5 separate regions of the Homo sapiens genome follow, and all the other regions are linked to region 5. The links are contacts of gene promoters, found by promoter capture Hi-C in blood cells and fetal thymus (Javierre and others, 2016). All regions are on one chromosome and are shown on one strand. Each heading gives the region's core, a stretch centred on a gene start or on the middle of the fragment in contact. The rest is flanking DNA. Distances are from core to core; before and after follow the strand shown. Region 1 overlaps LOC105374264 (a long non-coding RNA gene). Region 2 has its middle 77 kb from the start of BCL6. Region 3 overlaps LOC105374264 (a long non-coding RNA gene). Region 4 holds the start of LOC124906315 (a long non-coding RNA gene). Region 5 holds the start of LPP-AS2 (LPP antisense RNA 2).

Region 1 (2,700 bases), core at 157-2,656, 280 kb before region 5:
ACATGACTTTAAATATTGCTGAAAATTTTATAAAGGCTTGTCGTCATGTTTAGGATGTCTTACTCATCATCGCGGCCTCCTCTCATCATTCCGTTTCTCATGACAAAATATACATTTACATTGTAAACAACGATGGATACAAATCCGTTTTCAAAATATCTTCTGGACAGGTTATTTTGTCCTTTGTTGACTTCCTGTCAGCTCAGGTTAGATGATAATTGCTTTTATCTTGTCACATGGCTGGCAGAGTTTTTACCAGGAGTAGAAAGGGTTAACTCTGCCATTTCCTTGTTGTCTGGTTGTGTTTGCAACGTAAGTATTATCTTCAATCTACTGTTTGCAGAGGTTTTCTTTTTCTTCTTTTTTTTGAGACAGAGTGTCCCTGTGTCTCCCAGGCTGGAGTGCAGTGGCGCGATCTCAGCTCACTGCAAGCTCCGCCTCCCGGGTTCACACCATTCTCCTGCCTCAGCCTCCCGAGTAGCTAGGACTACAGGTATTCGCCACCACGACTGGCTAATTTTTTTTTTTTTGGATTTTTAGTAGAGACGGAGTTTCACCATGTTAGCCAGGATGGTCTCGATCTCCTGACCTTGTGATCCACCTGCCTCGGCCTCCCAAAGTGCTGGGATTACAGGCGTGAGCCACCGCGCCGGGCCTGCTTGCAGAGGTTTTTTAAGGCAGAAATCATTTTAACTCACTGAAGTCCATTTTGAAAGATTAGGTTAATGGAAACTGGATAACATCATCCATAGATCCGCTTGATGGGGCTCTTGTAAACTGATGAATGTGACGATACACTGAGAGTTCAAGAAAAAATAAATGTAGATTGCCACATGGTTCAACTCCTCTTCTCAGGTGAGAGGTATTTCTCAGGTGTCATAAAGCATGCAATTGTCAAATGCACATACAAACAGCAATATAGGCAGTAGTGCCCGTGCACTTATTAAACATTCATTCAGTTGTCTTTCTTTTCTAAATTTAAAATATAAACAATTCTTGGTGGTTATGTAATTCTACACATGCAAAAAAGTTGCATAGAAGCACACACACACAAATAAGTGCATATAAATACGGGAAATACAAACAGACTCTGGCTTGTACTGATGTCCATTTCCTTGTTTTAACAAGACTGCAGTTATGCAAGATGCTACCACAGAGGAAAAGTAGGTGAAGGGTGCAGTGAGACCTCTCCATTTTCTTTCGGCAGCTTCTTGTGAAGTCTATAATCATTTCAAAAATTACATAAATAGAAGTTCTAACATCCTGGCATCCCAGTAGATTCGCTGCACCTCCAGGAGACTGCACCCTGTTGGAGCCATGGCCTTGGTTCACCGTGAGACCTGGAGGGAGGCATTTCCACTCTTGAGGCTAATTTCCCTCATCTGTAAAATGCACAGTTTGGCCCAAAGCTCCACTCAGCTCTAAAATTCTAGGATTGTATATGCACAGTTTGGTGTAGGGAGGTGTAAATCTCACTCAGATTATGAGCCAGCTCTAGGTGGTGAAGGGAAATGTGCTCAGCTGTTTGATATAAAGTCTGCTTTCCTGGAAAATGAACTTGGAGCCATTTACCTCTTCCCATTGGCTCCTTCAAAGGGTTTTCTGACTAAGGAAACACAGAAAGTTTGAAAATATTTTCATCAAATACCTTGAAAACAGCATCACCAAAACCAAATAAAAGGAAAAGGTAACATTACTTGCTGAAGATGATGACCTCTCTACTGAACCTTCAGAGTTGATTTAGAGCACATGGAAGCTATTCTCTGCTTCCCTGACCTGTTTAGGCTGCTCAAAATGCTAGGTGCAGAGGAAAACACCCTTTTGGCAGCCAAGATGGAAGAGATATAAGTGGATTTGTAGTAAGAGTCTGGGCCTGCAGAAATTTGTGTCACCCTGACACTGAAGAGGGAAAGTTGATTGTTCTCCAATGCACAGCAATTAAAAGCTCATCTCTGGAGAAAGTCGGGAGGCAGGGGTTACATATATATATATATGTATTTTCACATCTGCAGACAATTTTTTAACCCTGGTAACTGATTGATTGGGATAATGTATTTACCTTGGATATGGAAAGCAGGAAGAACAGTTCTTGCGTGACTTTCAAGGTAGTCTATACCTTCAAGTGTTTTCAGCTATGTATCTTCTTTTGATCTTCTCTATTTTCTTGGATTTATCCTACAAAAATAACCACATGTTAATGAAAAGATAAATATATAAGTTTGCTTACTGCCACAGTGTTTGAACTTTAAAAGTCTGGAAACAATTTAAATGTCCAACAATAGAGGACTAGCGAAATTATGCCAGTGGTTTTAAACTTGACTAATGAATCAATAAAATAAGAAGAAATGACATAAGATTGACATCTTTAATTTTGTGTAATAAACATTTAAAAATACTAGTAAATAAAAATACTATTGTCCCATCAAATAAAGGATATTTTGACACCGAAAGTAAAGGGAATCCCATCACAATAAAAGGCCTCACCAGAGAAAAGATCATTGGCAAACCATGCCAACATATGAGAGTAGAGCAAGAGGGTCCTTAATGCAAAAAATGGCAAAATCTGAATAGAGTGTATAGATTAACATTAATATTGTATCAATGTTAACTTCATAATTTTGCTAATTATACTGTGGTCGTGTTAAAAGAATATCCTTGTTTTTAGGAAATACACCCTGAAGTATTTAGGAGTAAAAGGAT
Region 2 (2,700 bases), core at 157-2,656, 330 kb before region 5:
TGCTGTATGTAGAAAATTACAGATTAGAAATTAAAAAGAAGAAAACTAATATAACTTTGAATTATATCATGCAGACATAATGATATTTATCAGTTTCCAGTCTTCTTTACAGAAATGTATACACACTGCCCATACTGCTGTTATAACTCACTATGATACATTGTGAACATATTATCATGTCAATATGCTAACAAGTACATAATTTTAAATAGCTTTCTAGTATGTGCCAGGCACAGTAATATGCAATTATGAGGAAGACATGGCCTGGTCTTCAGGGAACAACTGGGGAGAGCAGGAAAGAACAGAAGCTTTCTAAGCTCTGGTGTGGTGCTCTTTCTCCTGGTTTATTTTCATTACTAGGTAAAGCTTTACTCCTTAGCATTTTTGTTTTTACAGTCCCAGCACATTTAAATCCCAGTTTTCTTATCCTTGCCTTTAGGTTACAGTGTCCTATTCATTTACTTTTGATCCATGAACAATTGAGAGTTTTTAGTATTCAGTGAGTCCCTGTAATGGCATGGTAGAGCACAGTTCTCAGAAATTGTGGAAGAAGATCTTTCCAACAGCAGGTGCTGCCAGTGGTGCTACAGGTAGAAATGGATCCTGGCTTTTGGGGACAGTGGTCTTCCTTGTGCTTCAGTGTCCCTGTAGCAAGAAGGGGACTCTCATTTCCCAGAGAGCTTTCTGCTCCTTAACACCTGCTGTGATCTGTGCAGACATCTGTGAGGCAATTTGGGTTCTATAGAATAGGAAGGTTAGACTTAGGGAAACAAAGTATGCGACTGAGGCTCTGCCTAGAAGAGGCACAGCAGAGCCAGGATAAAGCACAGGCTTTGTGATGCCAGTACAGCACTCTTTCTATTCTTCCCCAGCTCCACTGAAGGCATGGCTGACTTGGCTGCAGAAGGTTGGTGGGTCAAAGAGACCAATGTTCTCTGTTCTTCACATGCACACACACATACACACACACCAGAAACATGTGTGAGTACCCTCACATGTAAACAGGCAATCTAACCAAAATGCTCCTAGGTATTCTGTAAGTGCTCCCCACCTGGAAGGATCTCTCTCGTCTTGTAGTTCTTGCACCACTGTTTGGTGTCTTGACCACCCACAGCAACAGGCCACCTCCAGACAAGCCAGGATCCCTTTCACTGGGATTTTCCAACTCTGCATCACATATACCCTGGAGGCATGCTCTCCCCAAGCAGGCAGGGTCAAGAGACTCAGTGTGATGAATCCCAGACAACAAATATACAGTGAGCACCTCTAACAAGCAAGATGCTGAGTTAGGCTGTAAAGAGAATTCTGCCATGATATAACATCTACCTGCTAGAAAGCACTCCATAACAACTAGAATAATATTATAACATTAGATATGTCTTGTAATTTATGATTCATAGGCATTGTCTCACCTGACCCCGACAACAGCCCTGTATGAGAGACATAGTCTTAATCACATTTAACAGATGAAGATGCAGAGGTTTAGAGAGGCTCACTGACTGGGCCTACATTAGATAGTGAATATTACACCTTGGACCTAAACTCCAGTTCTTCTGACTACAAAACCAATGTCCTCACCCTCTCAGACATCAACCTCAATATGTTATGGGATTCTCAGTTCTCAATGTGACCCATGAGGAGAGTTTGGTGAATGTCACTTAACAGGTGAGAAAACTGATCCAAGAGGTGAAGAGAATTAACCATGATCACCAGGGGCCTCTGGTTCCAAAACCTAGTGGTCCTTTCTCATCACTTGGTCCCTGCTGTGGAATAGCACCTCAGAGAGCAGGGGACTGTGAACAAAGAAAGAGTAACAAAGATTCAAAGCAGATTGTGTGTCCCTAAGGGGGCTGCAGAAAAACTCTTTGGGTACCTCTGCTTAGAAGCATCCTGGGGAGCCTCAGCCCCTGCCCAGCATGTAAGTGTAATGTGTGTTTTGAGGTCATGTCAACTTCCTGTTAGGTGTTGCTGTCTATGATCTTCCTTCTGGCCTAGGCCAGGATGCCATTTTTTGTGACCAAGCATAGAGTCCTGCTTTAGAATGCCCAACTGTTGTTCAACAGTGTGGTTTCTTTGAAGGAAATGTGATGAGAATAAGGTGGGGAGGAAGTTGGTAAGAGGGGACAGAAACAAGCACACATACTGGCATTGTCTGTTGCTTGATCTTGAAAAAAGTTATATGGCATTTTAGATGGATCCCAGCCTTGCTCCTTCCGCTATGTACACAGCAGAATCTCCCCTTATACTCCTCATTTTAGAGACTGGTGGGAAATGAAAGACAGGGAGACTAGTTAGGCGACTGTATTGCAGAAACCCAAATGAGATCCAATGGGGACTTGAAAGTGGCCTTAGGGTCAGGATATAGACGTATACTGAAGAACCACCCCAGAGGAAGACTCAACTAGTTGTACAGATTGGATGGTGGAGAGAAAGAAAGTGGAGGAGAGAAGCTTAGGATGGCCTCTGGTTTGCTTACTGAGGCATCCAGGCAGGTGAGCATGTTATGGACAGAGCTAAAGACTACAGACAAAGAGAAAGTTTGGAGAGAACACAATGAGCTTAATTTTTAATATATTGAGAGAGCACATCTGGACCATGTTCTTATGAAGGTGATTACGGGGAAAAGTGCTCAGAAATGAGGTCCTCCAACTCCACCCTAAAAATTCACAGACATTGCTACAACAACCATTAGTCACTGCA
Region 3 (2,802 bases), core at 156-2,655, 310 kb before region 5:
ACTGGCTTTGAACTGTTTTCTACTCCTCAGCTTTCTCAGAATAGCACCTACCTTCTAGAATTGTCAACAGTGTCCAGCACGTAGTAAGAAGTCAATAAATGTTAGATGGCATTGTTTTTAGTAAAATTTCTAAAGGCAGCAAAGGAAAGCAAGGGTGTTCCAAGCAGAGGGAACAGCCTGAGCCAGGTCTTGTGGTAAGAAAGTTTCCAGAGAAGATGACTAGCCCTATGTGTTTGTACAGTTGAGTGTGTGGGTCATCACGGAATGGGGCAGGTACGGTGATGATTGGAGGTGTGGCTAAAGAAGTAGGTCACTGATATTGGAAGCCTAAGAAATCCTATCTCGGTAGATCAAAGATTTCCAAAGTGCAGTGTGCGCTCTCAGAAGGGTGTGCAAATCATAATGAATTTTCATTCAGGTTTACTTTTATTTTTTAAAAGGGAAAAGTTTAAAAGTACTATTATTTCATATACAGATTGAATATGGGATCCTTGTTAGATCCCTGTTCACACAGTTTCTTGCCACATGTCCAACTAAGGCTATTCTGAGGGAGGGGTCGAAATTTTATGCCCTAGAGGGTCTGCAAGGTACCCACAACACCATTCTTAATTATCTAGTTTCATGGGTTTATGGATTTTTATACAGATTTAACTGAATAAAAAGTCACATAATAGACCAGTGATTTTTAAAAGATTTCTGTAAAGAACTTGTGGATTGAGAATAGCACTTATAACGAACACAAGCAAACGACAAGAAAATGGCAGAGCTGACTTTTCTCCTATCCTAGCTTTCCTTTAGCCACATTTTGGGGAGGATAAAACTAATGATGACCTGATCATATATATCAAACAGTAAACAAAAAAAATTCAAATTTTCAGGAAGAGTGCTTCAAGTATGGATTTACATTCACTATTATTAATGGTGAGCCCTGTCTAAGGTGTGGATTATGCCCTGAGACAGTAGAAAAGATAGTAAGATGTCATTAAGAATAGCATGCATTTGAAAATAGTCTTCATTTCATGTTCATATCTTCTGTTATACTTCCCAGTTTTAATTTGTTATTATAAAGTGCATAATCTATTGGCATGGCTCTACACACAGGCACACACATGTACCATAAATCTATCGAGGTGCACATGCCAGTCTTCTTCAGCACTAGGGTTACATATTTAGAGAAGTTTGAAGATTGCTGATTTAGGTCCTGGGAAACTGTTATTTGGAGGTTCTTGAGCAGTAGGAGACATGATCGAAGCTGTGTTTGAGGGTAATAAATTTCATCACAACTCCCCCCACCCCGCCCCCAGGGAAAAAAAAAAAAAAGCATTGCACAAAGAATACAGAGAAGTGGAGTCTGGAAGAGAGCTGTTAAACAGCTCGGCTCCTTCTCTTCCAGAAATGTTGTTTTCTCTTCCTTCCTAAGGACCACTGACCTCCTCCAACGACCAGCAAGAACTAGTGAGATATATTCCACCAGCCAGGCCTTCTGTGGCTGCCTGCATAGGAAGAAGACTGCCTAAAAATATTCCTTAACTAATTTCCTCTCCTCTAGGTTTCTTGCTCTATTACAAGCCAAGTCTAAGGATCCTCAGCTTTCACTTGCTATTTGAGATTATGGGGTTTGTCTTGTGATGCAGACATTCCAAGTTTACCTGTTTACAGAAGGCAGACTTCCAGAGTAGCCGGAGGCATGGGCTCTAGAGTCAGACAACCTATCTTCAAATTCCAGCTCTATCAGGCACTACTACGCTCACCATGGGCTACTTTCTTTCTGCCACAGGTTCCTCATCTGTAAAGTGGGAATAATCATCCTATCTGTGTGGCAGTTGGTAAGAAGTAAATAAGATAATGAGTGTATGTAATCCCAGCACTTTGGGAGGCCAAGTCGGGCGGATCTTGAGGTCAGGAGATTGAGACCATCCTGGCTAACACGGTGAAACCCCATCTCTACTAAAAATACAAAAAATTAGCCGGGCGTGGTGGCAGGCACCTCTAGTCCCAGATACTTGGGAGGCTGAGGCAAGAGAATGGCTTGAACCCGGGAGGTGGAGCTTGCAGTGAGCCGAGATGGAGCCACTGCACTCCAGGCTAGGCGACAGAGCGAGACTCTGTCTCAAACAAAACAAAACAAAACAAAACAAAACAAAACAAAACAAAACAAAAAAAGATAATGCGCGTAAAAGACAGAGTTAATTCCTGGCATAGAAAAAATTCCCAAGGAATGTGAATTCATATCATTACAAAGGAATGAACTGAGGCATGGTCTGAAGGGCCTAGGGCAGAAAAAGGGAAGGAGGCTTCCAGGAATGCAGATCCTTTAATCTCTTTAAAGCAATATCCAAACAGAAGTCTAAGTCTCTATGGACGCTGGCATGCTCAAGGATGCCAGTGAAGGGGGCAGAGATGGCTGCCTCTGAGTCACCCTCCCTCCTTGACTCATCTGCCACCTCTGTTATCTCTGGCTATTGCCACAGTTTCTCATGAGAAATTATGAAATAAATGGCCTGCATGGTAATGCCTGGGTGAATAGGTGAACCTCGGGCATGTGGCCAACTCTCCATTCATTTTAAACATCCTTGGGTTTAGTGAACTCTAGATGATTACATCTCTTTTATCAAAAGACAAAATTACAACAAATTTAGTTTAAAGATCTCAGTTGGCTTCATTTGCAATTCTAGAATCCGGCAACACTCCATTCCGTACAATGAAGTAAGTGTCCCAGTGAACGGAGCAGAAGAGGTTTGCTTTATAGACAGAGAAGGGCTGAAGAAAGCAGGAGCAAAGTACAAAGACTATTAGTTCCTT
Region 4 (2,780 bases), core at 239-2,738, 260 kb before region 5:
CAAAACCATATTAGAAAAACAGAAAAGAAAAAGAAAAAAAAAAAAAAAGACTTAAAATCTCTCTTGGGGCCAGATACAGAAAGCATTTTCCTCACCTGTTTTCTTTTCAAAACAGTAGAAAAACTGTTTTTAAAGAAGGGCAATTAAAGTAGACTAGCCCTGAATGATTTTTCTAATTGTTACAGAAAATCTGATGGTTTTCTTACCTTGAAGTCATGTGTACTAGGTCTTCCAATTCTCTCTGAAGGGGAAGCCACATGGCTTCCTAGATCCTTAAGAAAGGATAACCCTTATTGATAAGCCTCTGTTTATGACATGACTTGCCCAGGGTCACACAGAAAGGCAGCAGTAGAGACAAAAATTACATACAGATTGCCTGTCTCGCAGTTTCCCTTCCCTGTTGTTGGAGGAACGTAATGAGGGTAAGAAAGGAAGGGGTCTCCAGAGAGATGTAATGGCTATTTCTAAGCCATTTTTAAAATAAGCTTCAGATGATCAAAAGTTCGAGGTCAGAGGATAATTTAGGCCATCAGAAGTTGGCCAGATTGGAGTTAGGTCCTCTAGAGAATTCTGTCCTTTGGCAGTCAAAGACAGTGATGGACGCCAAGCCAGGCCTGTGATTTGGGCACAGGTCCAGGCTCTAGCCCCCTCTGGAGCCGGGCTCGGATCTTCACAAGGAGCTCTGCAGCAAGCAGGGTCTGTGCTTGAACATACGCTTTTAATCAGAGTCGCTGGAACCTGGATGGGGCCTCAAACATAATTTAATTCAGTCCTCTCACTTTGCAGATGTAGAAATTGAAGGCCAGATTGAAGGGTGGGCTATGGAATGCTTGCACAAGGTCATCTGTCAATTTAGGGAACAGCATGGTAAGGTGAAAAGGGATCGCTTTGGTGTCATTGCTGGGTTCCAAATCCCCGCTCTGCCGCGTATTAGCTAAGAGACCCCAGGTAAGTCACTTGACCTCCCTGACTATCAATGTCCCAGTGTGTAAAGTCGGGACCATAATTACAATGCCTGAATCACTGGATTGCTATCATTAAATAAGATGAAAAATAAGAAAGTGATTTGTAAACAGGAAGTCACTTTTCATACCACAATGTTAATATTAAATTATAATAAAACCCAACCCAATAAAAGCAGTCCACTTTTCTGAATGCCCACCACATGCCAAGTGCCAAGTACTTCACATACCTTGTTTCTTTTAATTCACACAATGAATGACCCGAGGAGAACGCTCAACTAACAACCATGTACTTGAACCAGGGGTTTAAATCAGTCATACACACAGCAGGATTTAAATACTATCTTCCACATGGTACCTTCAGAAACGTGGGCCTGGGATTTCATTCATGGGATACACATGGCTCCCCCCCCCGTACCCCCTGCCCCCTCTGTATTGAGTGGGTGGCTCTCACCTGTGGAGGGCAGGGTGCTCTCATGTTTGTTTATACCAGAACATAGAATAGAACTTGGTAAAGGTAAATGCTCATTTAAGAAATAAAAATACATCAAATAAAGTAAAAAGCAACCTGGTAGATAGCATTTCCTTTTCATTTTTTTAAAATAGCTTTATCGAAGGATAATTGAATGGAAATGGTCATTAATATATATCCAGAATCTATTAACGTTCGGCTAAGTTGGGGGGAACATAGGGATGTTTTAAGGCAACTAAGCGATTTAGAAAACTTAAGTTCTTTAATGTTTTCAAAGAAAAGGTTGAGTCTGTAAGATATAATCTGGCAATTTGTATAGAACTCTTTCTACTAGCTTCCAGGAATCCCTGCTCTGTGAGCTTTTTGCCAAACTGATTGATCTTCCCAGACATAATCTGGGGACCTTCTCTAATATGCCCCTGTCCCGCTGTCAGCTTAATACACTCTTTTGCTAAGTAATAGGGTATTGCTAGTGTTCTTCCAGGTTCTCTTCATAAAGGCGCTTCTCTGTCAATAAGAGACTGTGTTTATATTCTTGTGCACAAATAACTGGCCCTCTTCTCAGTGTTTGAGATCCCTCATCTTGCTCCGACTGTTGCAGCCTTTTCTCGCCATGACAGACTGCCATACTACATGGCCTTCTCCCATCGAAAGGTGAGGTCAAGTCTCCTTCCTCTGAATCTGGGTGGGGTTGTGACTCACTTTCAATCATTCTAATATAGAGTAAGTGATGTTGTGTGATCTCTGAAGGTATGTCATAAAGAAAATGATGCCATTGCCTCCTTGTTCTCTAGGGTCTAGCATGTGGACCACTGAACTGCCAAGGAAGCAGTCCAACTGCCCTGAGGCTGCCATGCTGTGAGGAAACCCAAAGTGGTCCATAAAGAAGGATTATGTGGAGGGACCCTGAAAGATGCCTGGCCTGCCTCCCACTGCTCCAGTACCCTCCTCCCCAACTCTTCCAGCTTCAGCCACTGTCTGCAACCACATGAGAGCTCCCGAGCCATAAATGCCCAGCCTAGTCTCCCCTAAGTTTCTAACCCACAGTTTAAACTACTAAGCTTGGGTTGCTTTGTTATGCCTCAATAGCAACTGGGACATGCCCCTTTCTCCATTCTGCTGCTGAATCTGGTTACAGCAGCAGAGACACATGCCAGGGGCATCTCTAGTAACAGGGGAAAGCCCTTTGGGAGTAGATTCAAAGTGGGGGGTCAAGACAAATTATTCAGCGAGCCTGACTTTTAGAACTCAAGGGGCACCAAGTAAGTGCATGATCCTGAGGCAATCAATTCCTCTCGTTTTCCTTTTTTTGTAAAGGGATGAACTAGACACAGTGTGGAAAGCCA
Region 5 (2,714 bases), core at 147-2,646:
TTATGTGCTAACGTGAGGGATTACTTTAGATATTAATAGGAGAGAAGTGCAAGGAAAGGAAGTCTCAGGGTATGGAATGCTTTCCTGGCCATGGCTGCTGCGCGTCATAATCCCCTAACACAGTTAAGTGGTGGTTCTCATCGTCGTTCACCCTTACAGATGTCAGAGGGGAAAGAAAAATCCAACTCAAAACTTCCAATGACAGGCTTGTCTGTATTCAAACCAGTTCATCTCGTTCGCAGACTTTTTTGAAGCTATAAGCACAGAGCAAGCTTTCTGGGCGGGGCTCAGAAGTAAACGTTAAACTCCAGGGATTCATTTATTTGAGCACAGGACAGAGGAAGTTGCCCTGAAGCAACTGATTGTCATTGATATTCAGGGCTCGCTGTCAACCAGGACCTTCCAGGAACTGGCTCTGGGCCAAGAGCAGTAGAAATCACTGGGTGGTCCGCACAGCTCGCGGGCATCTAACCTGCTTCAAGGCTCAGGGCTAAAAGGGAGCCAGGGCCCTTCCTGGAGGCGGGAACCCAAGTGGGAGGCAGAGCGCCTGGGCCCGCTCCTCGATCTGCTGAGTGACGACCCTGTACAAGTCATTTCTCTTCCGAGAGCTTCAGTTTCCTCACGTGCCAAGCGGACGGGTTGGAAGTTGGTCTTTGCCAGCTCTGACACCTTGTAAGTTTTGAGTCTTGCTGGGAATCCAGGGCGGGGCTCACGAGGAAAATCTTGGAAGGGGATTTCATGGCTGGATCTCTTCCACTCAAGCTCAGTGCCCTAATTTGACGCCTTAATAGTAGACGCAGGCTTTTCCATTTTCCAGGAGCCCCCTGACGCGGCCGCTTCCTCCTACGTCTCCTTCCTCTTCCTCTAGCAGGGGCAAAGTCTCCACATCTCCCTCTTTCTCTTCCTCCTTTGCAAGCTCCCTGCATTCCCGCGTCTCCTCCTCTTCCTCCCAGGAAATGCAATGCCCTCAGTGCGCCCACCTTTTGGCAAAGCCACTGCCGGCTGCGGGTTTCCCCTCCCCCGCCAGGCGAGCTCTGCGCGGCGGCTTCGCGGGCACACGCCTTCCCATACCTTACATGGACAAATGCGTGCAGGCAAAGTCAGGAATTCAGGCCCCTGACGTCAGCCTCCAGCGCTCAGGGCACCGCACGGGAGACCAAGGGGAGGGGGTGGGGACGGTGGGGAGGAAGGAGGGGGAAAGGCACCAACCAGCAGCCGCTCCAGCCCTGCCGAAGTTTCACTTTTTGTCTGTGGGTTCGTTCCCGGGTCCCGCGCGAGCTTTCCCGGGATAAGTAGCTTTAGCGATCGGGAGACAGCCGGGCGCTGCAAGGTAAGGGCTGGCTGCACGGCCCGGGGCGCGGGGCGTGGGGCGCTGGGCGCGGGCGGCGCGCTCGAGGAGGCCAGTGTGGGGCGCGGGGCCGGGCCTGTCCGGGGCTGGGGACAATGGGAGGGGGAGTGCCCGGGCACCTCCTCCTCTGCCTCTGCCTCCGCCTCCAGCCGCCGCCGCCGCCGCCGCCGCCGCCACCACCACCGCCGCTGCCCCGGCTGCCTCCTCCCTGAGGTATTGTTGCAAATCCTTCCTTCCCCTCACCCTCCACCCGCGGGCGCCTCGGGAACCCCCAGCCCTCCCCCGGCGCGAGCGCCTCCGGGGTGGCAAGAGCGCAGGGCGCGCGCCCTGCTCTGGCCTGGCCCGCTGTGCGGAAGTGCCGGCCGCGGCCCAATCACGGGGTGCACGCCATGGGGGAGGGGGACCCAGAGTTTTTCCAAAAGCGTCGACCCCAGGCTAGGCGGGGTTGGAGCCTTGCGCGCCCCCTGCCCGGACTTTTCTGGGCGCCCAGGGGGCGGGGCCACGCCCATCCGCTTAGAGCTTTCGCGGAATCACAGTTGTCACAGCGGAAAGGGCCTAGACCCAGTCCTCCAAGTCCTCCCATTTTACAGTTGGGGCAGCTGAGGCCCAGAGAGAAGGAGGGTCGCCCGGAAGTTATTTACTAGAGGCCAGACCATAATTCAAATAGTTGGCTCCGGACTTAAGTTCCCTTTCTCTAAGCATTTCTCTAGCACCCTGTGTGTGGCAGACCCTGTGCTGGGTGTATTGGACGTTGCCCTCAAGGAACTCAGTTGAACCTGGGAGTCAAACCTGGCCTAGGGTAGAAAATGCTAAGTGCTGGAGCAAAGGCGTGGACAAAGTTAAAGGAAGTTCCAGGGAGGGGGTTTGATTTTCTGGTCCCTGGGACGGCCTTTTGGAGAGTCCTGCACTGAATGGGGTTTTTGGAGGTTGAGGAGTTTCCTGAAGCCAGCTAGCGGCTTGGAGGAAGACATCTCTTCGAGGGAACCGTGGGCCAGAGAAGACTAAGTAGTGTGGGAAATGGAGATGAAAGTATAAATATTCTTTAGTTGGAGGCAAGGGGTTGGGGATGGGGGAGGTTGTGATATGAGATGAGCTAATCAGTGGAATTGTGCCTGGGTGCTTGGACAGGGCAGAGTCTTTGGAACCTCGGAGTCGTAGGAGAACTGAAAAATCTCTCTGGCTTCCCTTCCCTTAGAAGGGATCCACTGCTTTCCCTCCCCCAACACAAAACAACTAGCGAGAACTCAGGGTCTTCTCTGGGGCTTTTGCTAGTACCAAACTCACTTAACTGTGTTTCCAGTCCCCTTTCTCTTTCCATTCCTTCCCCTTTTACTAAATCTCTTGCCTTTCCTGTAAAATTCACTCT

Evidence for each region. The method cuts DNA at HindIII sites, captures the fragments that hold promoters and counts their contacts. A CHiCAGO score of 5 or more calls a contact.
Region 1: a fragment that was not itself captured here is called in contact with the fragment with the promoter of LPP-AS2 in region 5 in 1 of 17 cell types (neutrophils); the score reaches 8.8 in neutrophils.
Region 2: a contact is called between a fragment that was not itself captured here and the fragment with the promoter of LPP-AS2 in region 5, in 5 of 17 cell types (neutrophils, M1 macrophages, activated CD4 T cells and 2 more). The highest score is 8.8, in neutrophils.
Region 3: a fragment that was not itself captured here is called in contact with the fragment with the promoter of LPP-AS2 in region 5 in 1 of 17 cell types (neutrophils); the score reaches 8.6 in neutrophils.
Region 4: a contact is called between a fragment that was not itself captured here and the fragment with the promoter of LPP-AS2 in region 5, in 1 of 17 cell types (neutrophils). The highest score is 6.1, in neutrophils.

The regions. Positions count from the first base shown.
Region 1 is chr3:187,874,948-187,877,647 of GRCh38, forward strand. It overlaps LOC105374264 (a long non-coding RNA gene), which reads right to left. Exons shown (of 3, transcript XR_924813.3): 2 at 2,060-2,175. Among named protein-coding and RNA genes, the nearest start is that of LINC01991, 100 kb to the right of the region's middle. The HindIII fragment of the contact is 8,295 bases long and covers 1-2,700 here.
Region 2 is chr3:187,820,659-187,823,358 of GRCh38, forward strand. No RefSeq gene overlaps it. Among named protein-coding and RNA genes, the nearest start is that of BCL6, 77 kb to the left of the region's middle. The HindIII fragment of the contact is 2,084 bases long and covers 365-2,448 here.
Region 3 is chr3:187,839,383-187,842,184 of GRCh38, forward strand. All of the region lies in intron 2 of LOC105374264 (a long non-coding RNA gene), which reads right to left. Among named protein-coding and RNA genes, the nearest start is that of BCL6, 95 kb to the left of the region's middle. The HindIII fragment of the contact is 7,685 bases long and covers 1-2,802 here.
Region 4 is chr3:187,896,217-187,898,996 of GRCh38, forward strand. LOC124906315 (a long non-coding RNA gene) reads left to right here and starts at 1,407. Exons shown (of 3, transcript XR_007096212.1): 1 at 1,407-2,088; 2 at 2,229-2,780. The HindIII fragment of the contact is 2,010 bases long and covers 484-2,493 here.
Region 5 is chr3:188,152,692-188,155,405 of GRCh38, forward strand. It overlaps LPP-AS2 (LPP antisense RNA 2), which reads right to left and starts at 1,397. Exons shown (of 1, transcript NR_036497.1): 1 at 1-1,397. LPP (LIM domain containing preferred translocation partner in lipoma) reads left to right here and starts at 1,466. Exons shown (of 12, transcript NM_001375462.1): 1 at 1,466-1,561. RefSeq lists enhancers at 1-901, 2,701-2,714 and a silencer at 1,334-1,673. The HindIII fragment of the contact is 6,292 bases long and covers 271-2,714 here.